Linked DNA regions of Homo sapiens: regions 1, 2 and 4 are each linked to region 3. Evidence: promoter capture Hi-C in human tissues and cell types (Jung and others, 2019). All regions are on one chromosome and are shown on one strand. The core of a region is centred on a gene start or on the middle of the fragment in contact, and the rest is flanking DNA. Distances in the headings are between cores, read along the strand shown.

Region 1 (6,855 bases), core at 2,290-4,789, 210 kb after region 3:
AGAGGACAGTTAGGATTCATAGTTTAAAGGGAGCAGTATCAAAGTATTTGTGGCTATTTGTGAAAACCACCACAATTTCTTTTTATATGTTCTTGGGTTTCATTTGTTAATATTTTGTTAAGGATTTTGCATCTTTGTTCATGAGAGCTATTTGTTCAGTCTTCTTTTCTTTTTTTGAGACAGAGTCTCGCTCTGTCATCCAGGCTGGAGTGCAGAGGCATGCTGTCAGCTCACTGCAACCTCCACTTCCCAGGTTCAACATGATTCTCATGCCTCAGCCTCCCAAGTAGCTGGGATTACAGGCATGTACCACCACGCCCAGCTGATTTATTTTTATTTTTATTTTTGATTTTTAGTAGAGATGAGACATGGTTTTGCCGTGTTGGCCAGATTGGTTTCAAACTTCTGGCCTCAAGTGATCCACCCACCTTGGCCTTCCAAAATCCCGTGATTACAGGCATGAGACACTGCACCTGACCCATAGTCTTCTTTTCTTATGATGTCTTTAGCTTTGGTGTCAGGGTAATACTGGCTTAATAAAATGAGTTGGAAATTGTTCTTTACCTTTCTATAATACTTATTTATAGAATTTGTGTTGGATTGTACTAGCCCATTCATTTTCGTTAAATGTTTGATAGAATTTACAAGGGACTTCATCAAACGAATTCTGGGGAAACAATCTGGGCCTGGGATTTCCTTGTGAGAAGATTTTAAATTACTAATCCTAATGGATAAAATTACTAACTATAACTGATGTTAACATATTCAGATTTTATGTTATTTTGAGTCAGTTTTAGTAGTTTCCTGGCTTGGAATTTGGTTCATCTAACTTGTTTAATTTATTGACATAAAGTTGTAATAGTTCCTTTTAATTCTTATGATTTCTGTTGGGCATGCAGTGATGCATCCTCCTTCATCTTGATTATTTTGGAAGTTTATATCTTCATTCTCTTTTTCTTGTCAGTCTAGCTAAACAGTTATCAATTTTGTTGACTTTTCAAATAACCAACTTTTTATGTTTCATTGATTTTTCTATTGTTTTTATTTTCTGTTTTATTGATTTTGGCTCTGGCACAGTCTCGGCTCACTGCAACCTCCGCCTCCAGGGCTCAAGTGATTCTCCTGCCTCAGCCACCCAAGGAGCTGGGACTACAGGCGTGTACCACCATGCCCAGCTAATTTTTGTATTTTTAGTAGAGACGGGGTTTCACCATGTTGGCCAGGATGGTCTTGATCTCTTGAGCTCATGATCTGCCTGCCACGGCCTCCCAAAGTGCTGGAATTACAGGCGTGAGCCACTGTGCCCAGCTGCTCTGATCTTTACTAGTTTCTCTTTCCATTTAGTGTGGGTTCGATTTGTTCTTCTTTTTCTGGGTTCCTGAAGTGGAAGCATAGGTAATTGATTTGAGACCTTTTTCTTTTAAAATATAGGTGTTTAGTGCTATAAGCATTCCTCTAAGTATTATTTTAGAGGCATTCCATTTGTTTTGACATGTTGTGTTTTAATTTTCATTCAGTTTCAATATTTTTCTAATTTCCGTGATTTCTTCTTTGATCTATGGGTTATTTAGAAGTGTGTCATTTAATTTCCAAACCTTTGGATATTTCCAAGATTTCCCTATGTTATTGATTTCTACTACATTGTGATTGGAAGAAGTAAGTTTACTAAAACTATCCAATTTAAAATAATGTAAATAAATTGAACTGGTGTTCCCTAAATTTTTTTTTAACTTTTATTTTAGGTTTGGGGGTACATGTGAAGGTCACGTAGGTAAACACGTGTCATGGCGGCTTGTTGTACATATTATTTCATCACCCAGGTATTAAGCCCAGTACCCAATAGTTATCTTTTCTGCTCCTCTCCCTCCTCCCACCCTCCCCCATCAAGTAGACCCGTGTCTGTTGTTTCCTCCTTTGTGTTCAAAAGTTCTTATCGTTTGGCTCCCATCCTAAAGTTTAATGTGCACATAAACACCTGGGCATCTTGTTAAAATGCAGGTGTTGATTCAGCAAGTCTGAGATGAAGCCCGAGAATCTGCATTTCTTTTTTTTTTTTTTTTTTTTTTTTTTTGAGACGGAGTTTCGCTCTTGTTGCCGGGGCTGGAGTGCAATGGCGCAATCTCGGCTCATCTCACAAGCTCTCACTGCTGCTGGTCCTGGGGCCATGCTGAGTAGCAAGATTTAAAGATGATGATAATTTTCAAAATACATAGTATTTAATTTCTTAACTCCATTTGTCTTGTGATCATTTCCAATTTATTATTTTTAGTAATTATTACTACACATAAGAGTGTCTATTATTGGCCGGGTGCAGTGGCTCATGCCTGTAATCCCAGCACTTTGCGAGGCCGAGGCGGGCGGATCACCTGAGGTTGGGAGTTCGAGATCAGCCTGACCAACATGAAGAAACCCTGTCTCTACTAAAAATGCAAAAAAAAATAGCCGGGCATGGTGGTACATGCCTGTAATTCCAGCTACTCGGGAGGCTGAGGCAGGAGAATCGCTTGAACCCGGGAGGTGGAGGTTGCGGTGAGCCGAGATCGTGCCATTGCACTCCAGCCTGGGCAACAAGAGCGAAACTCTGTCTTAAAAAAAAAAAAAAGTGTCTATTATTATAGTGCATTATAGTGCTGAGAGATATTTTTTACACTTTATCCCACTCATTTTTCACAACTGTTAAGTAGGGAAGGCATGCATTGGCCAGGTGCGGTGGCTCACACCTGTAATCCCAGCACTTTGGAAGGCCGAGGCGGGTGGATCAAGAGATCAGGAGCTTGAGACCAGCCTGGCCAATATGGTGAAAACCCATGTCTACTAAAAATACAAAAATCTGCCGGGCGTGGTGGCGGGCACATGTAATCCTAGCTACTCCAGAGACTGAGGCAGGAGAATTGCTTGAACCCAGGAGGCGGAGGTTGCAGTGAGCCGAGATCGCCCACTGTACTCCAGCCTGGGCAACAGAGCAAGACTGCATCTCCGAAGGAAAAAAAAAAAAAAAGCATGCATTTATTTTATTACCTTTCCAGGGTGAGGAAACTGAGCCTCGGAGAGGTTGAGACTGGCTTGACGTATTTCACATTTCATCATTAGACCATGCTCCTTCCTTTTAATGATATTATATATTTGCGAAGCTGACTTTCCAGTGTTTGCTGTGACAAAAAAAAAAGTACCATTGAAGGTCCGTGGTGGTGCAGGCAGTGAAGGTGTCAGTTCCAACCAGACTCCGGATTTGAGAAGTTGTGGAGTGCCCAGTAGGCACGTTCATATTTAACTTATTTAAGGATGTTTATTTTAGGGGGAAGTAAATTTTTTAGGAGTTATGTGTATTTTTTCAGTGGCTACTAAATACTTATGTTGTATGAACCTAATAATGGAAGTTTGGGGTATTCTTGTTGGCCTAGGAGGTGCTGTGAAAAATTACTGAGATGCTCAGGGTGCAATGAGCTGAGAAAGTTTGGGGAATTCTACTATAAATAAATAATCCCACCATATATATGGATCCATATATATGTCACATGTAGATATCTTTATTTTTGCATGTAAATATATTTATTATATTACACATCTTTAGCCAGGTTTCACTTTGGAGTTCATAATTTTCTCTGTTTGCTCACATACATTACTCTATGAATTAATGAGTTGTCTTGGAATTGAAGCATGTTAGGGGAGGGGTATGTGTCTTTTCTAGGTTTTGCAAGTACTTGCTGTAGAGTCTCATATTTTTGTGGGTGTTGTCCTCAGGGATATGGTGCCTTTTGCTAATTACACTGATGCGGAAACAGAAGAAGAAATTGCTAAAAGCCACAGGGGAGCAGGCAGCTGAACCAAGGAGCACATGAAAAGCAGGTTTCTCCAGACTCTGCCACACCCTTTGGGAAACTTATTAGGGGGAAAAAAATCCTCTAAGTCTTTTTTTTTTTTTTGAGTCAGAGTCTTGCTCTGTTGCCCAGGCTGCTGGAGTGCAGTGGCGCAATTTTGGCTCACTGCAACCTCCACCTCCTGGGTTCAAGCAATTCTCCTGCCTTAGCCTCCCGAGTAGCTGGGATTACAGGTGTGCACCACCATGCCTGGCTAATTTTTTTGGTATTTTTAGTAGAGACAGGGTTTCACCATGTTGGCCAGGCTGGTCTCGAACTCCTGACCTTGTGATCCGCCTGCCTTGGCCTTCCAAAGTGCTGGGATTACAGGTGTGAGCCACCATGCCAGGCCAAAAGTCCTCTAAGTCCTTGTAAAGCTTGATTTATGGCTTACTTTGGGGCAGGGAGATGAAACAAAATTTGTCATGAGAATTTAAGATGTCAACCTAACTAATTTATCAGGGCTTTCAGCTGCAACAGAAGGGATAACAACTAGCCCTTCAAATGCTTGATAATGTGCCTAAGTTCAAATCAAGATGGAATCTTCTTGGATATCAATTTTTTCAACTTGAAGCTTCCCTATACTTATAAATCTTGATTGTTTTGTCTGAACATGAACAAGACTTTTGAGCATTGATTTAGTATAATGTGTGAATAAAACTAGGTAATGAAAGCTAGCGATTTTTTTTAGTTTTATTTTATCTATACTTGACACATAATTCTACATATTTATGGGGTACAGTATGATGTTTTAATACATGGTACATTGTATAATAATCATATTAGCATAATTAGCACAATTAGCACATTTATCACTTTAAGCATTTATTATTTCTTTGTAGTGTTAACATTCAAAATCCTCTCTTCTAGCTATCTTGAAATATATAATACATTATTATTATTAATAGTTATAGTCACTCTATTGTATAATAGAACACCAGAACTTATTCTTCTTAACTGTAACTTTGTACTGGTTGACCAACCCTCCCCTCCCCAGGATCTGGTAACCACTATTCTCTCTGCTTCTATGATCAACTTTCTTAGATTCCACATGTTGCTGGGTGCAGTGGCACATGCCTGTGGTCCCAGCTTCTTGGGAGCCTGAGGCAGGAGGATCGCTTGAGGCTGGGAGTTCTGGGCTGTAGTGTGCAATGCTGATTGGGTGTCTGCACTAAGTTCGGCATCAATACGGTGACCTCCTGGGAACAGGGGACTACCAGGTTGCCTAAGGAGGGGTGAACCAGTGCAGGTTGGAAACGGAGCAGGTCAAAACTCCCTTGCTGTTTGGAGTGGGATTGGGCCTGTGACTAGCCACTGTACTCAAGCCTGGGCAACATAGCAAGACCCCATCTCTAAAAAAGGAAATTTTAAATTTTTTGTATAAACTAATATTTTTAATAAAATAAATTTTTTAAAAAGGAAAAAATTTAATTAAAAAGCTAAAAAATAGATTCTACATGTGAATGAGATTACTCAGTATTTGCCTGAAAGCTAATGATTTTAAAAGTCCAGAAAAATGGTGCCTGCTGTTCTCACGATGGCGTTTTCTGCCAGGGCGTGAGCTAACATCTGGCAGACAGTGCCCTCTAGAGCTGTTCCGAGAATGATAACGTAAATACAGATCCCCGAGCTCTGCCCCTCTCAAACTGAATCAAAAGCGCGGGGCATGCAGCTCAGGTTTAAGTATTTTAAAAGGGCCCCCAGATGTTTTAATGCACATCCAAGATTGAGAACCACTGACATAAAGCCCTTTGGTGTTTAATACATTGAGTTTCTCATATTTCTAAATTTTCTCTTGAAATCACACTTCAGAGGACCTTGATAACCGGCCTTGACTTTTTAAAGTTTTTAATTTAGATTATTGGTTAATACACACTTGAGTCAACAGGTTGAAGGTTAATTCTACCCCCAGGAAAAAAGTAAAACTTTTTTGGTTCAAGAAGCCCAGCTCTTATCTTACAGGAGAACATGGAGAGAAATGGCATCAGCCTATTCAGAACTCTTCTGCCCACCTAGCCGGAATCAGCAATTTAGCATGCAGTCATAGCCATAGTTCACGTCTACGAATCGGTCAGCACCTGGGGGGCTATATCTTTGTCTTAGGTCTCCATGTTGCCCTCTGCAAACCTCTGTATTGCACTTGGTGAGCAGAGTGCAGAGCGGACCCTACAGCCCTCACCCCCATGACTGGCGCCTTTGGGAAGTGCCCACCCTGCCCAACCTTACCCTGCAGTTCTCCTAGGCCCAATAAAATCTCAATTAATATTCATGCATGCACTAGTGTATTCAACACATATTTGCTGTCTTTTGAAGAAGTGGGGCCAACCCAATTATATTTTCTGCATTATAAACACCTTCCAAGGCTCACCTTCTCTCTCTACCCCTCCATTTCTGGTCCTAGTTGAGGTCCTATCGTCTCTTACCTGGGCACCTGCAGTGACTCCCTAATCAGACTTGCTCCTTTTAGTCTCATCCCCTTCAAACCCAGCCCACACACTGGCCAGAACCATCTATTTAAAACTCAGATCTGGAGAGTGGGGAGGGATAGCATTAGGAGATATACCTAATGTAAATGACGAGTTAATGGGTGCAGCACACCAACATGGCACATGTATACATATGTAACAAACCTGCACGTTGTGCACATGTACCCTAGAACTTAAAGTAAAATAAACAAATAAATAAATAAAATAAAATAAAACAACAACTCAGATCTGGCCAGGGGGCTAACCCCTGCTCGACACCCCCCAGGGGCTCCCGCCACTATGATCTGCAATGGCTGGTTAAAAGGGACTAAAACTTTCCGGGGCTGGTCTCTGACCACTTCCTTAGCAGCCATCCTGTTGCTCCCAACCTCAGGGGATCCTTGAGCAATGCTGATTGATGGCTTTGCACACAGACCCCTTACAGGGATTGTTTTAATCACCTGCTATTCATCCTGCTGGTGAGAAAGGGATTCCTGTTCCAGGGTTATGGGGATGGCCAAACACAGGACACC
Region 2 (6,600 bases), core at 3,514-6,013, 150 kb after region 3:
AAAAATAATATTTCCCAGCCATTTACAAAGAACAATCTGGAATACAGCTTACCCCAAAAAACATAATTTAAGGAAATTTTGATAAAATATCACATTTTTAGGTTACTTTGGAAGAAAATTCTGGCATAGAAATTATTTCCAAAAAACTTCATTATTTGAGCCAATTTGATTGAAAAATCACATTTCCAGGCCATTTAGAAGAAAAGTCTTACACATGATTTAGATCCAAAGATCCTAAGATTTCAGTGAATTTGGATAAGAAATGACATTTTCTGCATATGTTAGAAGGAAAATCTGGTGTAGGACTTAAGTTCCAATAAGCATCCAAATTTGAGCAGATTTGCATGAAAATTTCACATTTCCAGGGGGATATGAGGAGAAATATCCAGCATATGACTTACTTCCCAAAAACCCACTATTTATATAAATTTGGATTTTTAAAACTCAGGTTTCTTACTCATTTGGGGAGAAATTTGACAAAGAATTTGTGTACCCTAAAACCCATGATTTGAATGAATTTGAATGAAAAGTGTATTTATTTCTGGGGAACTTTGTAAAATAATGTAGCATAGAATTTATGACCACATGTCCTAAAAACTTGAACAAATTTAGATGAAAAGTTACATTTCTGGGTCATTTTAGAAAAGCCTGGCATAAGAATTATTTCTAAAAACTCATAAGACTTAGTGAAGTTGGATGAAAAATAATCCTGCTTTCAAGACCATTTTGGAAGAAAAATATAGTATGGTATTACATCTAGAAAACCCTACTTATGCAAATTTGAATGCAAATTGTCTTTGTGGGCCATTTTAGAAGAAAATTCTGCTGTTGGGCTTATATTTTTAAAAAAACTCCACTGGTTATTTGACTACTGGAGCTATATAGTAAGTTTTGAAATTCGGAAGTATAAGTTCTCCAACTTTGTTCTTTTAAAAATATGTTCTTTGATTGCCTCTTTTTAACCTAAAACTTAGCACCCTGGACACAGTGTTCTCAGACTGTTTGTCCCATCCCTCCTCCCACTGATTAATCTTGGTGATTCTTTCATATAAGTACATAGTGATGCTTCTCATTCTTTGTTACGACAGCATATTGTCCGTTTGTGCATGATTTATATTTAATCAGTTCTACTGAACATGTTTTTCTTTGCTAAAATTTGAAATTACTCATGACTGCATTGAATAACTTATCTAAATCATTTTGCACATAAACATACACAGCTATTAGATAAATTCATTAAATTAGATTTTGGGCTCAAAGGGAATATGAATTTAAATTTTGAGAGATATTACCAAGTTGTCCACCAGAAGACTTGTGGCAATTTGTATTCCCAAGACTAATGTAGAAGTGTGCCTGTTTCCACCATCTACAATACTATGTCCAAATTTTGTAGTCTTTGCTAATCTGGCAGGTGCAAATATCTCTGTGTGTGGCTTTCATTTGTACCTTTACTGATGTCAAGGATATTTTCAAATGAAAGAAGACTTCTCTTCCTATGCTGTGATCTGTCCTTGTATTTTTTAGTATCTTCGACTGTGTTTTTGATTTTTAAAACTTCATTTCTAATGGTATTATGCAGATAGGAAAGACAGCATCTCTATCAAGTTTGTCTTTTGTTTTGTCCGTAAGTGTGAATTGCCTTGCAGAATTTATTTTTGTATAGACAAATCTGACCTTTTTCATTATGACTTCGAGTTTGAATCAGTTAGGAAGTCAGTCCAAGGTTATATGTTCCAATGATCTATTCCTGTATAACAGACAATCCTAAAATTTGAGGCTTAAAACAACTACTATCATCATGCCTCAGTTCTATAGGTTGACTGAACTCAGCTGAATGGTTCTCACTTGAGGTCCCTCACTTGGTTGCAGATGTCACCTAGGGTTTCAGTCGTCTGAAAGGCCTGACAGGGCAGGCCTCCAAAATAGCTCTCCCATGTGACTGCAGTTGAGGCTCACTGTTGGCTAGCTCAGCTATGGCTGATTACCAGAGTACCTCTATGAGGCCTCTCCATGTGACTAGAAGTTTTCACAGCATGGCAGCAGGGTTCAAAGTGTAGAAGCTGCATGGCTTCTTATGAACTAGTCTCAGAAGTCCCATAATATCATTTCTGCTATACCCTCTTGATGAAGCAAGTCACTAAGACCAGCCCAGATACATGGGGAAGGTAACAGGTCACTCCCCTTCACCCCATCTCATAATAAAGATATAGGGAGGGACGAATTGATTACGTCCATCTTGGAGACGATTTTCACACATCCATTCCATGTGAAATATATACTCATCCCTCCTAAGATGCCTCCAAAGTCTTATCCCACTATGGCATTGGCTCAAAGATCGGGATCTCATTCTCTAAATCAGGTCAAGGTGTAGATGATGCTTTATCTGAAGACCTGGGAACCAAAGCAGCATATCTAACACCCAGTGTAGATTCAGGGATAACTATCCCTGAAAAAGTGCTTCTATCAAAAAATGGGGAAATAGCAGGTACTGGTTCATAGAAATTCAGCAGTTCAGCTGGGCACATGCCACCAGTTACCTTAGTAGCACCGTACTGCCCCTGAGAGTGATTCTCCATGATGTCTGCAGTCCAAGTTATTCCTCCTTTTCCATGAGAAATGGCCTGTGCTTGCAGCTTAGTAGGTTTCTCACCCTGCCTCCCTGCCCATAGAAAGAGGTAGGGGCTTTTCTGTCCTTTTCAGAGCAAGCTGGTGTTCCTGTTACAAACGTTAAGGGTATGCCTCTTATTGAAGCTCATTCCATTAGACAAAACCCATATCCACAAAGCTCTTCAGGACAAGCCTCTCATTTGGGTTGAGTGTCAAGGTGCTATGGGATGATTCCCTTAAAATTTAGAACCATTTTGTGTATAGTCAAGGAGCCACACACTTAAATATTTCTGAAGTCTTAAAAAGGGGTCTTACAGTTGCACCCTTGAGATGATCTTTACCTTGAAGGACACTTATTTTGAGCAAAACCAGACACTGAAGGAGGTATGGTTAATAATATTTATGTAGGGTTAAATACCTTAAGCCCTGAGATAGGATAACTATTGAGACTGTGTGGCTTAAAGACCTTAGATCAGTTACCTGATGACTGACATGGGGACTGGGTCCTGGGATAGAGGAGCATGATTCAAAGTCCTAAACACTGGTATTACAGGACTGATTGGGGAATGTGGCTTCAAGGGTTTAATCTCTGTTATTGGAGGGCTGAGGAAGACACATGGTTAAAGATTGTCATATACAGTCAAGTGTTGCTTAACAAGGATATGTTCTGAGAAATCATTAGGTAATTTAGTCATTTTGCAAACACTATAGAGTGTACTTACCAAACCTAGATGGCACAGCCTACTATACACCTGGGCTATATGGTATAGCCTATTGCTCCTAGGCTACAAACCTGTGTAGCAGGTTACACCGAGTACTGTAGGCACTGAGTACTGTGGGCAACTGTAACACAATGCTAAGTTATTTGTGCATCTAAACATGGAAAAAGTAAGGTAAAATACAGCATAAAAGACAAAAAAAATGGTACACCTGTAGAGGGCACTTACCATAAATGGTAAGTTGCAGAACTGGAAGCTGCTCTGGGTGAGTCTATGCATCTAAACATAGAAAAAATAAGGTAAAATACAACATAAAAGCCAAAAAAAAAATGGTACACCTGTATAGGACACTTACCATACATGGCAAGTTACAGAACTGGAAGTTGCTCTGGGCGAGGCGGTGAGTGGTGAGTGAGTGTGAAGGCCTGGGACATTACTATACACTACTACAGACATACATACTGTACCCTTAGGCTACACTCAATTTATTTTTAAATTTTTCTTTCTTCAATAATAAATTAGCCTTAGCTTACTGTAGCTTTTAACTTTATACGCTTTAAATTTTTTTACTTTTTGACTCACTTGTAACTTAGCTTAAAACAAAAACACACTGTACAGCTGTACGAAAATATTTTTTGTTTTATCCTTATCCTATACGCTTTTTCTATTTTAAAAATTTTAAATTTTTGTTGTTGTTGTTGTTAAAAACGAAGACACAAGCACACACATTAGCCTAGGTCTATACAGGGTCAGGATCCATATCACTGTCTTATCCACCTCTGTATCTTGTCCCACTGGGAGGTCTACAAAGTCACTAGGTAACGGGAATTTTTCAGCTCCACTATAATCTTACCAGCCCACCACTGTATATGCAGTCCGTCGCAGACGAACATTATGCAGTGCCTGACTGTAGTTATGGAGGTGCTGATGAGGTGGTATAGCTGGGGGTGGTTGGAGATTATCTATTTTCTTGGTGGTCTGATATGGGTGTAACTGAGATCCAAGGCTCTGCTTGGTCACAGCTGCAAGACCAGGCCGTGGGACTGGAGTGCTGGGGACAATGTATTGGTGAGAGGGCCCCCGATGGAAGGACCAGGGACTAAAAAAGCCTGAGAAACACAACAAAGGTAGTCAGGGGCAAAGGCAACAACGGAGATGTTTGAAAGCTGGGAGGAGAGAAGCAGGAAAGGGGCTGTCAGAGCCAAGGGATGGGGGTAGCTGCAGATGGAGCCGGACTAGAGGAAGCTACACTTTCTGGAAGATCCCCTCCCATCCCATGAAATCTCTTTATGTAGTTCCTAGATTCTCTCCCCATACAAAGGTCCAGTCTTTCTAATAAATCTGCAAATGATTTGGTTCTTGTTTTCCGAGGAAATGAATTCCTGTGGAATAGTGGACTTAAGGGTTTCAGATGTCTGTATCATTCCTTATCCCTGTTATAGATGAGTGAATGAGGGACACAGGCACAGTTACAGATGTATAAAGAAGCCAAGTTTATTACAACCGAAGGCCACAAAACATGGAGAAGACTTAGTGTGGAGAAAGTAAACAGTCAAATGTCCTTTGACCACTTACAGAATGCATTTCTCTACTCCATTTCATCAAAGTGTCAACATTCTGACTCTTAGTCCTTGTCCCCATCTTTGCCTTCAGAGAGAGTATAAGGAATCCGAAGGTTGCCCTGCACACGGCTCAGGGTCGGGCTGCACTGGCAGTCTGTGGTGGACAGACGTGGTCTTCCTGTGTCTGCTGAGGTGAGACTTGAGGCTGAAGCCCCGCCCACACGTCTTGCACACATATGGCTTCTCCCCCGTATGTGTCATTTGATGTAAGGTGAGGTGTGACTTTTGGAGAAAGCCTTGGCCACACTCTCTGCACACACAAGGCTTCTCTTCCGAGTGAGCCCGCTTGTGTGTAATTAGAGCTGACTTATTGCCAAAGCCCAGTCCACACTGCCTGCACATGTAGGGCTTCTCCCTCGAGTGCTTCCGCTTGTGCCTGATGAGACCGGCCTGGTGGCTAAAGCCTCGCCCGCACTCTCGGCACACATACGGCCTCTCCCCTGAGTGCGTCCTCTGGTGTGCAACAAGGTTTGACTTCTGGCTGAAGCCTCGCCCGCACTCCCCACACACCATGGGCTTCTCGCCTGAGTGCGTCCTCTGGTGTCTGATGAGGTTGGATTGCTGGCTGAAGCCCCGGCCACAGTCCTTGCACACAATGGGCTTCTCTCCTGAGTGTATGTTCTGGTGTCTGTTGAGGTGTGACTTGAGACTAAAGCCTCGCCCACACACCCCACAAACATACGGCTTCTCCCCAGTGTGTGTCCGCCTGTGAGAGATGAGGGTTGAATTCTGGCTGAAGCTGTGCCCACACACCCCGCACACATAGGGCTTCTCCTTTGAGTGTGTCCTCTGGTGGTTGACAAGGGTGGTCCTCTGCCTGAAGCATCGCCCACACTCCTTGCAGGCGTAGGGCTTCTCCCCAGAGTGCGTCCTCTGGTGGGAGATGAGGTTTGACCTGTCGCTGAAGCCCAGGCCACAGTCACTGCACACGATGGTCTTCTCCTCCAAGTGTGTCCTCTGGTGTCTCACGACAGCTGACTTCTGGCTGAAGCCTTTGCCACATTCCCGGCACACGTAAGGCTTTTCCCCTGAGTGTGTCCTCTGGTGTATGATGAGGTTTGACTTCTGGCTGAAGCCTCGCCCACACTCACTGCACATGTAAGGTTTCTCACCGGAGTGTGTCCGTTCGTGTATGATTAGCGTTGACTTCCGGTTAAAGCCTCGTCCACACTCCCTGCACACAATTGGCTTCTCCCCCGAGTGTGCCTTCTGGTGTCTGGCGAGGCTCTTCTTTAGGCTGAAGCCCTTCTCACATACCCCACACACGTAGGGCTTCTCCCCTGAGTGTATCCGCTGGTGACTGAGCAGGTTTGTCATCTTGCTGAAGCTCAGTCCACACTCTCCACAGTTGACTGTTCCAAATCCTAAGACTTCTATCCTCTTCAACAATTTGTCTGTTTCCTCAGGGTTCCCTGACTGAGCTGGGCTGGCTTCTAACTCCACCCCTCTGAGGCCGTTCCGAGAGCTGACTGGCTGCCTCTGGGGTGGCCTGGAGAACGCTCCCAGAGTCCTTTTCTTGGTTCTTCCAAACAAAGGCATGGCACCTTCTCCCTCAGGACCTTCTGCTTGATCACTCCAGGGTCTCCCCTCAGAGGCTTGTTGCTGCTTCTCCTGGTCCCCTGGGCCCGGATCCCCAGGCTGGATGTTACCTT
Region 3 (6,232 bases), core at 1-2,500:
CATGGTGAAACCCCGTCTCTACTAAAACATAAAAAATTAGCTGGGCGTGGTGGCGCGAGCCTGTAGTCCCAGCTACTCGGGAGGCTAAGGCAGGGGAATCGCTTGAACCCGGGAGGCGGAGATTGCAGTGAACCGAGATCGCGCCACTGCACTCCAGCCTGGCGACAGAGCGAGACTCTGTCTCACAAACAAACAAATAAAAATAAAAGTGGCAGAGGCTTTGGGTGTCCTAAAAGTCTTGAGTTCAATACTGCACTGAAACCACCTGGCTTAATGTTACTTCGTAATCACCAACTGCGCCCTAACTCCGCCTAAACGTTTTGTCATAGACGTTCCCTTAGTGACAAGAGCGATCCTGGATCAGAACATGTATTCACAAGTGTTCTACAGGGAAAGAAAGCCGAGGGCTCCTCTCAAAGCACTGATCGCGTCAAAGTAGGAAGGCAGCACGTCATCACAACTTCCCCAAAAGTATCAGGGCAAAGCCAGCCAGCTACACAAAGTTGCAAGCTGTCAAACCCATTTTGAACTTCTTGAGTTCTGCTCTCCCAGGATGGGAAGGAACAAGTGGGTCCAGAACCCCGCAATCGTTTTTCCCGCGTGCTCACCTAACCCGCTCCGGCCACTCCCAAGGGATCCCGGAGAAGGGGTCCAGCTGCCCAAATGACTGGGCGCCTGATGGAGTGCCAAGCCGGAGCCTCACTGGTTTACCTGTTTTCTATTTCGACCGGATCCGCGTCAGGCGGCTGCACCTTCACCTTCACCTCCGCCATGAGGGCGCAGTTCCTGACGCCTGGGGGGAAAGATGCACGGAGCAGCCCGGTAGCAAGCCGGGGAACCCGGGGAACCAGTGGAGGATAGCGCTCTGCTGAGGCCGAGGGGCCTTCTTCCTCGTGTCGCAGCCGGTCCTTCCTTGCCTTTCGGCGGGAGGTGGCCAAGCTGCGCCTGCTCCGGCCCACTTACAGGCGCCGCTACAGCTTCTTATTCTTGTTTTCCAGAATGTCAATGCCCATCGGACGCACAAGCCTGGTTCCTTCATTCTGAGTTGGGAAACCAACTTTTAGCACTTGGCAACTCTGTGAAGGAATATTCTTAGATGCCTATGGGAAAGCACTGGGAAAGGAACTCCAGGCGGGTACCAGGCTCCCTGCGGAGCGGCAGGGGCCGGTCTAGTTGCTAAGAAGCTGAGTCTCCACCAATCATCTGCCCAGCACCCAGTGGGCGGGGCGCGGCTCGCCGCGTCTGTGGTAACCCGGGCGGCGGCGAAGGAGGAGGCAAGAGGCGGTGAGAGGCTGGCGACTGGGTTGGGCGCGGCAGAGATGCATTAGGGGTCCCGATCCCGGGCCCCGCGGTTAGAGGAAGAGGAGGGCGGCTAGAGGAGGGGAAGAGCTTCCCTTACTCCAGCCGAAAGGATGCAGGTGTCCTTGGCAGCCCCTGATGGGCGGGAACAACCAAACGGGATTCCGGATCCGGGCTGCGAGGGGGCGGTCCACGTTGGGAGAGTTGAGGGGTCTGGGGATCCTGTTGACTGCACGTTGCCATTTGGGCCTGGCGGATCCGCCTTTTTTCTTGATTCCCTTTGCGTGGGGCCCACTGGCCACCCCAGCTTCCTAAGGGCAGCTGCTAGTTGACGCTCGCGAATTACTTCCTCTCCTACATATTTTTTATTTAGAATTTTTCAACTACTTTTATTTTATCTGCCTTTCACTTAAATGGAAATGCGACTATGGGCAAGTCTCAAGTCCAGCCACACTCCCGTAGGAGCTATTGTTGTGCTGTCAGTATCTGTAGTTTATATTCTTGGCCCTAGATCCGGAACTATCCAACAAGGCATTAAGTTCACCCCTTAAATTTAGGTACCCCATTTTTGAGAATACAGTCTGTGACAAAGCTCAAACTGCAGACATGTTCAGATCAGCATTATTAGAACTGCAACAGGCAAAACTAAAAAGAAACTAGAAATAGCCTAAATGCCCAGCCACAAATGGATAAATAAGTACAGGGAAAACTAAATAATACAGTGAGAATGCAAGAAGTAGACTATAAAAATGGAATGAATATGTAGATTATAATTGGGCAAAATCTATGGATTATTAATGAAATTTGAAAAGGCAATACAGAGATGTAAATGGTTGTTGTGTTAAGGTGAGCGTTTTTTCCCCCTGAAACCTTCTGTGCATTAATTATGACAACCTTCCTCCCCACCCTCACCTCCAAAAAGACCAGTAAGGCTTTCATACTGGTAGTTAATTATTAATACCAGGATTTATAAATACAGTAGATGAAACGGGAGGCTTGTGTTTATTGGTCACTGTTTATATTCTTGCAAACTTCCTTTCCACTGAGAAGTAGTACTCTGCAGTCCTTCTAAAGTGTCTTTGCAGCTTTCAAATACTAGAACTGCTCTGGTGATAATGGCAAGGCTGTGAACCCGGAGCTTTCCCAAAAAAGTTAGCTCTAACTAACATTTTGTGGTACACACAGAATTACTTCTGTTCCCCTTGTATGATGACTTGCCCTGAAGCCAAGAGAGCTGACACACACCAGAGGCAGGAAAAGGCGATAATGATTTACAGGGAACTCAAGTCAGAGCGTTAGTGATAGTCTCTGTTTTGCCTTACTCATTTAATTTGTCCTTTTAAAGTAACTTCTTTCTTTTCCCCATCTCATTCATTCATGCTCCTTTCGCAGAAGTGAGGTATTTAGATAATCAAAACCCCACACAAGACCTCAACAGCAAATACAGATGAAATGTAATTATTATTTCAATTAAAAAGGGAATAATATTTGTAGTGCCATGTTAACAGTATTCTCTCGTTTTAACTAGTTTTGCTGCATTTAAATTAAGTGCTGCTCTTCAGCTTTTGTGTACATTGGAATTTATATGTATATATATATAGAGAGAGAGAGAGAGAGAGAAAATGACTGCTGGTTCAGTGTGTGTCCCTCAGATCATACCATTACGAGTGCCTCAGCCTGGAAAAGCTAACCATGAAATTGATAACAATACGCTTTTGGAAATGAAATCAGGTAAGAATCACATATGTTTGAAATTGTTTAAAATAACATTGTCATATTTCTTGTGTTATCTGGTTGCTGGTTTATCTCTTTGCCTGCTTTCTCACTCTTTGCTCAGCTTTTTGGGAAATTTGTAAAACTTCTAAAATTTGAAACAGTGCTGTACATTGATGGTTTATAGAGTGGTATACATTTAGATTAAAATGGTTAGCTTTGACCAACCTTTCATTTGTATAGTTTCAGCAATGTCTTGACTTACCTTAGCCAAGGTAAGATGTCCCGGTGCTGGCCGGGTGCGGTGGTTCACACCAGTAATCCCAGAACTTTGGCAGGCCGAGGCAGGTGGATCACTTGAGGTCAGGAGTTCAAGACCAGCCTGGCCAACATGGCAAAACTCTGTCTTACTAAAAATACAAAAATTAGCCAGACATGGTGGTGGGCACCTGTAATCCTAGCAACTCAGGAGGTTGAGGCAGGAGAATTGCTTGAACCTGGGTGATGGAGGTTGCAGTGAGCCGAGATCGCGCCAGTGCACTCCAGCCTAGGCAACAGAGCAAGACTCCGTCTCAAAAAAAAAAAAAAAAAAAAAAAAAAGTCCCGGTGCTCCCCAAACTTTTCCAATATGCTCATTATTTAGCTGGTATAATAAATTTGACCTACTGATACAGGCTTTCCAGTCAGACAGGTTGGAGACTTAATCCCTGCCTTGACAACTTCTAGTGACCTTGGGTACATTACTTAGCCTTTTTGAGTCTGTTACCTCACTGTAAGACAGGAATAATAATATCTACTTCTTAGAGCCATTGTGAGGATAAATAGGTTCGTGTATGTATGAGGTGCACAGGGTTTGGCATATAGTAATGTGAAAATAAATCTCAACTCTAACTACAGAAATAAAGCAGTGAGGGCCAGGCCTGGTGGCTCACGCCTGTAATCCCAGCACTTTGGGAGGCTGAGGCAGGTGGATCACCTGAGGTCAGGAGCTTGAGACCAGCCTCCTGTCTCTACTAAAAATACAAGATTAGCCAGGCATGGTGGCCAATGCCTGTAATCCCAGCTACTCGGGAGGCTGAGGCAGGAGAATTGCTTGAAGCCAGGAGGCGGAGGTTGCAGTGAGCCGAGATGGCGCCACTGTACTCCAGCCTGGGAGACAGAACAAGACTCCATCTCAAAAAAAAAAAAGAAAAAGAAAAAAGAAATAAAGCAGTGAATGTATATCCTGCTAATACGTATTCTTCAAAATCTTAAATATGTGTGTATATCTACACATACACATATATATACATACACATATATAATTAACATAAGGAAGGAAAGTTTCACAGGTAAAACATATGAACAAATAGATGTGTAAAAAAGACTTTGAAATTCCAATTTTTGCCTTTTTTTAACCAATTATATATTTTAATAACTGAAATGTGTACAAACTATCTGCATTTATGTTATGACCCCTGTGCTGCTTAGACCAAGAGTTCTAACTAAGCATATGTATTATTATCTGTGTTCTCCTTTAGCTTAAAAGCTGATACAATTTTTTAAACTGTCAAACCAAATTAAACATTTTAATGTATGTGCCCATAATTCTTAGGAGAAGTTGGGTGACTATTGACAAAAGATGATATGAATGGTAGGGTATCAAAATTCCCTAATATGTAAATATCAAATAAATAAATAGTTTTCACAATTCAGTAACAAAAAGAACAGTAACCCAGAAGAAAAATGGGCAAAGGATATGAAAAGACCTTTTTTTTGTTTTTTCTTTTACAACTTTTATTTTAGGCTTGGGGGTACATGTGCAGGTTTCCTACCTGGGTATATTGTGTGGTGCTGAGGTTTGGGGTATGATTGAGGCCATAACCCAGGTAGCAAGCATTGCTGTAGGTTTTCAGCCCTCCCCACCCTCTGGTAGTCCCCAGTGTCTATTGTTCCCATCTTTATGTCCATTTGTACCTAATGTTTAGCTCCCATTTATAAGTGAGAACACGTGGTATTTCGTTTTCTGTTCCTGTGTTAATTCGCTTAGGATTATGACCTCCAACTATATCCATTTGCTGCAGAGGACATGATTTCATTCTTTTTTATCACTGCATAGTATTCCATGGTGTGTATGTACCACATTTTCTTTGTCCATTTCACCATTGGTGGGCACCTAGGTTGGTTTCATGTCTTTGCTATTATGAATAGTGCTGTAAGGAACATATGGGTACATGTGTCCTTTTGGTAGAACAATTTATTTTCCTTTGGGTACATACCCAGTAATGGGATTGCTAGCTTGAATGGTATTTCAACTCTTATTTCTTTCTTTTTTTTTTTTTTTTTTTTTTAAGACCGAGTCTTACTTTGTCACCCAGGCTGGAGTGCAGTGATGCAATCTTGGGTCACTGCAACCTCCGCCTCCTGGGTTCAGGTGATTTTCATGCCTCAGTCTTCGGAGTAGCTGGGATTACAGTTGTGTGCCACCATGCCCAGCTAATTTTTGTATTTTTAATCTGCCTGCCTGGGCCTCCCAAAGTGCTGGGATTACAGATGTGAACCACCGCGCCCGGCCTCAACTCTTATTTCTTTGAGAAATTTCCAAGCTGCTTTCCACAGTGGCTGAATTAACTTACATCCCTGCCAATAGTGTATAAGTGTCCCTTTTCTCTGCAACATCTGTTAGTTTTTGACTTTTTAACAAAGGCCATTCTGACTGGTGTGAGATGGTGTCTCACTGTGGTTTTGATTTGCATCTCTTTGATGATTAGTGATGATGAGCATTTTTTCATGTGTGTGTTGGCCACTTGTATATCTTCTTTTGAGAAATAATGAAAAGACATTTTGTAGGAAAGGAAATATAAAGGTCTCTTAAACATATGAAAATATTTCTTCTCCTTACGCTTCTCTCTGCCCCTTCGTCTGCTTGCTGAGCAGAACTTATCCCTGCTTCACCTCCAAGCACTTAATCACCACCTGACAAACTACATTTCCTTGGTTGTTTACTGTTTCAGTGTCCTTCCTAAAACATAATCTCCATGAGAGCAGGGACCATTCTAGGTACAGGGGATATGCAAGGAGCCCCTAAGATATACTTTTGCATATCCCCTATACCTAGAATGATGTCTGGTACATAATAGGTATTCAGCAAACATTCATTGTAATGAATTAGTGAGTTTTACTCAAAATGCAAGAAAGATGAATTGAAACTACAAGATAGTATTTTTTTTAACCTAGGAAA
Region 4 (6,574 bases), core at 1,891-4,390, 250 kb before region 3:
TCAAGTGTACTCTTTTACCTAAATTGAAATTTACAACACCACAGGCTGGCCTATCTTACTATTTTTAAAAGACTGTGACATCTCCCTTCTAAAAACCTTTCAAGATAAACAAGAAAGAAAAAATAAAGCCCTAAGTGCCTCCGTCAGTTTAGATTTACTCCTTCTGTGAGTTAGCAAGCAGACCCTGGACAAGTCCATGGGCCTCCCGTGAGACCCGGCAGCCACCTGCGGGTGGCATGTGTCTCCTGGTGAGAGTTGGACCCCAGTGAGGAGGGGCCGGTGTGACATGATGCTGCTTCCCCAACCAGTCAGACCCCACGTGCCACAAACCTGAATCCAGACACACTGTGGAGCTTGAGTTCCTTCCTCAGTCTTAAAACATTATTTCCCCTTTCTGGGAAGTGGGGAAATGTTACAGCCTTTTCAAGGAGAGAATCCAAATGCTTCTGGGATATCAAAGGTTCAGATCCTGAACCAATATTTGGAGGAAGTGTGTGAAACAAACCACATGGGTTACATTTGCTGCAAAACACACATGGCTCTAAAATAGATGAAGAAGGTACCATTGAAACATGCTGGGTGCTGGTGAATCCAAATGCCTGAAAAGCAGTTTGAAGCTTCTAGCAAACCAAGAGCACAGCAGGATTGGTCTTTCCTTAGCACAAACTCAACAGTACAGTAAGGGGGTCCAACCTCAAATCACTCAATTTGTGTTTCAAACATGACATAAACTAAGCCCAAACAAGAGTCAGTGCCAACAACAGACTCCAGATACAACCAGAATATCTGCATGCTGGAGACTCAGCACCCGACTCCTCCCGAGATAAAGCAGCGCAGGACATGAACCTGTTGTTTGCCCAGAATGTGAAGCCTATGAATGACAACCTGACACATGAGCCTTTAGAGTTTATGGGAAATGTTTCCATGTGAGTCCAAATAATTTGTCACTAGGGATGCAAGTAAAACCAGCATTGCCAACTTTTGGTTAGTCACCATTTTATAGATTACATCCACAGAAAATCCCAGAGTTTCATTTTAAACAATGGTTTCCATCTCTTACCCCACCAGAATAGAAATAGTAATTATATGCTTTACTTTGTGACTTGGTTTAATTTAGCCTCCTCTTCTGATGTTTCTCAGTCGATGGCCATCCCACCCCAAATGCACCCGGTCTCGTCTGATGCTTCTCTGACCGTGAATGCTGTAGCCCAGTACACGGCCAGACACCACTTAGCAACCACTGCAGGACAGGGAGCTTACAGGGAGCCTTCAAAGGGCCACAATCCAAAGATGAAGCAGATATGCAGAAGAGTTCCCCAACTGCTAGGGTGGGTGGGGAGGCTGACTCAGCCTGGAGCACACCATCAACAACAGGGGTCCCAGTCAAGGGAGTGATCTGGGGGAGCAGGCACCCTTCCATAATGTCCCTGGAGTACAAGTTTAGGGACAGGGCTTGCTGTGTTCTGACCCTGGGGGAAATGGAGTGGGGGAGGGGACAGTGTATGACAGTAGTTGGTCACTACTTAGGACTCAGGGATGACACCCACTCGGGGTGGACCAATGGCAGATGCAGCAAAGGCAGAGCCCCAGCTGGCCCAGCCTGGTGTCCAAAGTCAGGGTTGGTCCTCAGGCTGTCACTGAGATACAAGCAGGGACAAGGCCTGCACAGCCTAGAATCTAGGAAAGGCCTGTGCACTGGAACCAGAGACTTCTTAAAAGCCCTGGACAATAGACATTCGTTCATATCACCAATGTCATATCACCAAACACAGGCGTTTGGCTGAAGGGGCAGGAGTGTCGGCACCCAGTTTCTCCTTGGGGTACTGAAGGTATCACCTATTGAAAGAAATCTTCTAGTTGAAATAGGAAATTAGTTTTGCCCTGAGGAGAAATTTTTTAAAGCTTCTCCAGGACTTGGATGATTCATCAAAACTAATCTTCTTACCTGCTCCTCATCTGAGAAAGACACCAAGAGAAGAGGCCTCAGTGCTCCTAAAGGACAGCTTCACTGTGTCCCACTTAGACGATGGCCTTGACCCTGGTTCCAAGCAGCACTGCAGGAGACAGTGTCTGTCAATTCCACCACCCCGGATCTGTGCTTCTTCAGAAGCCTACGTGCACAGGAGCCACAGAAATGAACAAAGGAAAAAACTACTTATCCTAACTAGTCTCCTCTACCTGTGAAGAGTAGAGTCAATGAAAAGTCCTAAAACTAGCTCCAAGGAGAAGGAAACTTGAAGAAAAAGAGAATTATCCCCATAGCAAGAAATCATCAGCACAGAATGTGGGGATTTATGTTAATAAAAACAGCTTGAACCCAAGCATGAGAACAAGAAGCCTGATGAAACAGTACCCCAGATCAGAGGAAATAAACAAACACACAAGTGGTTGGGAATGGGAAAACAAAAAAGGTTATTTGGTCCAAAAATACATATCTAGTACAGCCTTCTTGTTTCACAGGTTAGAAAACCAGGTCCTAAGAGGTTAAATGACTTGGCAAAATAATTTGCTCTGTGTTTACCTAATAGACTCCCCTTTCTCATCCTGCCTTTCCTTTGACTCTAACAATGATGAGGAAGGGTGGGTAGGCCTCACAGTCACCCCCATCTGACAGATGGTGAGCTAAAGCGTGCAGACCTTTGGGCCTTCCAGGTCACATCTCCAGGAGACGGTGGAGTGCAGGCTGGAGGTCAGGGCTCCTCAGGTCAGACCAGGCTCTGGATGAGAACCCAGACCGTGCTGGGCTCTGGGCAGCTCACCTGCGTGAAGGCAACAGAACATCCAAGAAGGACCACTCTATCCACAACCACGCTATGTCACAACAGGAGAGCAAAATGAGGGTATAACCTGCCCTTGAGGAGAGAACATCAAGAGCTGCCGAAGACACTGAATGGTCTTCAGTGCAGCCTTCAAGAATGGGGATAACTATATGAGCAGAGAGAAACCTTAGTCTAGAGAAAGTGCATGAACGAAGAACCAAGGTAAGTAAAAGAATGTCCAGGGAAGACCAATGCAGAAAAAAACAGCCTAAGGCTTGACAAAGGAGGAACGGAGGATACGGTCAGAAGATGAAGGTGGGGACGTGAACCCAGGCTAAGGATCCTCCAAATCCTTTTCTGTGCACCAGGGACCTGCTCCAGTCTCTGGACCAAAAACACTGAGCAGCTCAACCAATGCAGACACCCACAGCCACTACCATCCTGTCAGGTCCCTTCCAGGGTGGAATATTTCTAAAGGAAGCAGGAAGCAGGGCTTGCTCATCCAATCAAACTGGAGAATCAAGCACTCAAGCATGCATAGAAACCCTGGGAAGATTTTAACAAGAGGACATTTCTGAAGGAGCAAAAAGGTTTGGGGAAGAAAACAGCAACCTAAAAATAAGCCTTTTAAAGTCATTAGGTGCACACCTATAAAGTCAGACACTACATGAAACAGCTCCTGAAATGCCAGGAGGACACACACTAGACAGAAAGAACAATTGGCAGAGGAGCACAAAAAAAGGCATCTTTCAAAGAGTGACCTCTGCAAAAGATGCCCGGAGGGCCAGCCTCGGCAGGAGGCCATGGGAGGGGGAGCAGAGGCTATGGTGAGCCCCGGGAACAGCTCTCCAGCAGCCCCTTCTGGCCAAGGCCAAAGGAAGAAGGAAGGCTGGGAAAGTGGAAACCCAGGACAGGGGAGGGAAAGAGAACAGGTTAAAATGGTAATCCCATTACAGAGAGATCTGGTGACAGTCAAACCATGAGAGCCTTGCCAGATGCCTCTGATGAAACTGGTACCTTATGTGGCAAGGTAAGGAGGGGAGTCTGTACACGAAAGGATTTGGGGGAGCTGAAGGAAGAAAACATTCCGGTGTCCACACAGCTACTGGTAAAATGGGTTCTGCGTGAGCCACGTAAGGTCATGATTGTTCTATGCTTAGAGCAAGCCACAGTAGAGAAGTATCCGGTAAGCTTGTGGATCCCAAATATGTGCATTTGGGGGTTTTATTTCCACTGGGGACCTTTGCAGACACAGTGGGCCCACTGCTACTTTATTGAAAAGCCTGTGGGAGGGAATTACCTTAATTTATGGCATGTGTCTCCATTGTTAAGATTTCGTTTTCATATGGGATCTCGGGTCGAGGTCCATGCTGACTTATGATCCAATGATTCCATTGTAAATGAATAGCCAGCTAAAACACAAGTGAGAGAGACCACTGCGGGAGCAAGGACAGTCTTGCTGACATCTGATCATGGGATTAGAGTCACTACTTCATCCTGGCTTCCCCCCCACCCCCACCCCCACAACACACACACAGTACTTATGAAAATGATATCATATGTGTCCTGTGGTCACAAAGGAAAGAATTTCAAAACACAATTGCTAATGTTTATGAGCTTATTCTTGTGCTAATCCCTGTGGAGAGCACAAAAAATTACAAACAAGAACCCCTGGCTCAAGAAGTTTGGAAAGTGAAGACTTAATCACTGTAAAACAAAGATGAAACACTGGTAACAGTATGCCACTGAACACTAGAGTCCCTAAGTACTCTAAGGAAAAACCCATGCAGAATGGAGTTGATGAAGAAATATTTGTGGAAGAAGTTAGATTTTTTTTTTTTTTTGAGACGGAGTCTCCCTCTGTCACCCAGGCTGGAGTGCAGTGGTGCCACCTTGGCTCACTGCAACCACTTCCACCTCCCAGGTTCAAGCAATTCTCCTGCTTCAGCCTCCCATGTAGCTGGGATTACAGGCACGTGCCCCCCGACCCCCGGCAACCCCCACCCCGGCCTCCTGGCTAATTTTTATATTTTTAGTAGAGACAGGGTTTCACTATGTTGGCCAGCCTGGTCTCAAACTCCTGACCCCAAGTGATCCTCCTGCTCACCTCCCAGAGTGTTGGGATTACAGGCATGAGCCACTGTGTCTGGCCTGAGCTGATTCTTAAATAAGGTTTCTACCTAAATAAGCACAATGAAGCAGGAAGGACTTCAAGGCAACCCAGATACCGCCCTTGACCTAGAAAGAGGACTCAGAGTAAGAACAGCTCACGAGAAAAAAACCTACACCAGATCATGATTTTTTAAAAACACTGTCCTGACACTTCTGCTTCTGTCCCAGATGGGCCAACAGGAACCAAATTTATCCTCACACCATCACATTGAAGTTTAAAAAAAAAAAGGACAAGCCTAAGAAACAACAGTTGTTAAGACACAGGACCTCAGGCAACAAAGGCCAGGAAACAACAAGCCAGGTAAGCCCCATGGGAGCTCCATCTGACCACCTAGGGAGAGTTCACAGGTCACAGTATGAGAGGGAAACCAAGGCAGAGGCTGGAGGACTTCCTGAGTAAAGGAGATGGGGTTGAGAGTCCCGGAGGCCACTCAGCTAAAGCACTCAGGACACAGTACTGGAGAGGAGACAGCTGCACAGAGGGAGAACAGTGGAGTTGTGCAGAAGGCCCCTGGAGCATCCAGCTGAGTACTAAGCAGGTAAAGAAACTACACAAGGTCAGGAAAAGATTAGTGCTTACAACACCTGCGCTCACACAGGGCTGAGAATAGCGCCTGCTCCCACCACTCCATGGAGCTCAGGAAGGACTCACTGCAGTAGTGGGAAGAATTAGTCCTACTGAGCACTGCTCCAGACTCACCTAAGAAATCATAAGATCCAGACCCAAAGTAACCAAAGTGATTTCAAGTAACTTCACGAAAAATTCAAGTACTGTCATAGGAATACAAGAGTATCCAGTACCCATCAAGGCAAAAACTGTCTGCCCAACCTCCTTAACCCTCAAATGGCCAAAGGAGAGAACACAGGGAAAACGGGCCCATGATTCAACTCACTCACAGAGCCCCTTCCTGGCTCTACACAGGAGGCATGTGGCTCTGGTGGCACTATCATCCAGGGCCAGAGGCATGTCACCGTCCAATTACATTGGTAACACAGGCCACTGTCAGCCACCTGCATTTAAGGGCTGTTGACTGAGAAGTAGTACAGTGAATCTTTCCTAAGAGTATTCTAAGCTATAGGCAAGTCTTAATTATACAGTCATTTCTAAAGTTGATATAATTTAAAATAATTAAGGTGTTCACTTTTACATTTTATAAAGCTTATTATCTTATTAAACACCATTCTGTTTCATGTGGTAGAATTTTATTAGAAACACCAGACTTATGAATAATAAACTGACTGATTAAAGATTTGAATGAGAGTAATCTCTGAGATAATTTTAAACAAGGGACATATTTTACATATGAATTCTTAACAAAAACCATGGTCACTATTTACCTTCAAACACTGTCAATTAAAAAAAAAAGATCAGAATATGTTTGAAAGATTCTGAAAATACAATGTCATTTTTTATTTTCTCAAAAAGTCCATTTTTTATGAAATGATCTTGGTATAGATTTATTTCATAAAACTGAATTTACATAGTTTTAATAGAAAATTTTATTAGGATAAGACATGATACCTAACCTGTCAGTTCTATCAAAATTTCTGGTTTTAGGATGAATAACCTAAATTGATCTTCATAACTAGGGTTGACCACATGTTCTGGTTTGCCCAGGACAATCAAAGTTTATACCTCTTGT

What was found. The method cuts DNA at HindIII sites, captures the fragments that hold promoters and counts their contacts. A contact is called where the count stands out against the background at its distance.
Region 1: a fragment that was not itself captured here is called in contact with the fragment with the promoter of DZANK1 in region 3 in 1 of the 25 tissues and cell types used here (spleen).
Region 2: a fragment that was not itself captured here is called in contact with the fragment with the promoter of DZANK1 in region 3 in 1 of the 25 tissues and cell types used here (spleen).
Region 4: a fragment that was not itself captured here is called in contact with the fragment with the promoter of DZANK1 in region 3 in 2 of the 25 tissues and cell types used here (lymphoblastoid cells and spleen).

The regions. Positions count from the first base shown.
Region 1 is chr20:18,256,910-18,263,764 of GRCh38, reverse strand. It overlaps the pseudogene RN7SL14P. Among named protein-coding and RNA genes, the nearest start is that of ZNF133, 28 kb to the left of the region's middle. The HindIII fragment of the contact is 6,505 bases long and covers 287-6,791 here.
Region 2 is chr20:18,315,192-18,321,791 of GRCh38, reverse strand. It overlaps ZNF133 (zinc finger protein 133), which reads right to left. Exons shown (of 7, transcript NM_001352452.2): 7 at 4,796-6,600. The coding sequence ends at 4,976. It overlaps ZNF133-AS1 (ZNF133 antisense RNA 1), which reads left to right. Exons shown (of 9, transcript NR_187570.1): 7 at 4,980-5,080; 8 at 5,793-5,962. Among named protein-coding and RNA genes, the nearest start is that of ZNF133, 30 kb to the right of the region's middle. The HindIII fragment of the contact is 8,391 bases long and covers 568-6,600 here.
Region 3 is chr20:18,462,048-18,468,279 of GRCh38, reverse strand. DZANK1 (double zinc ribbon and ankyrin repeat domains 1) reads left to right here and starts at 1,250. Exons shown (of 21, transcript NM_001367614.1): 1 at 1,250-1,284; 2 at 2,903-3,030. The coding sequence starts at 2,922. It overlaps POLR3F (RNA polymerase III subunit F), which reads right to left and starts at 890. Exons shown (of 9, transcript NM_006466.4): 1 at 712-890. The coding sequence starts at 773. RefSeq lists enhancers at 810-1,129, 752-1,370. The HindIII fragment of the contact is 23,548 bases long and covers 1-6,232 here.
Region 4 is chr20:18,710,101-18,716,674 of GRCh38, reverse strand. All of the region lies in intron 4 of DTD1 (D-aminoacyl-tRNA deacylase 1), which reads right to left. Among named protein-coding and RNA genes, the nearest start is that of DTD1-AS1, 15 kb to the right of the region's middle. The HindIII fragment of the contact is 3,760 bases long and covers 1,261-5,020 here.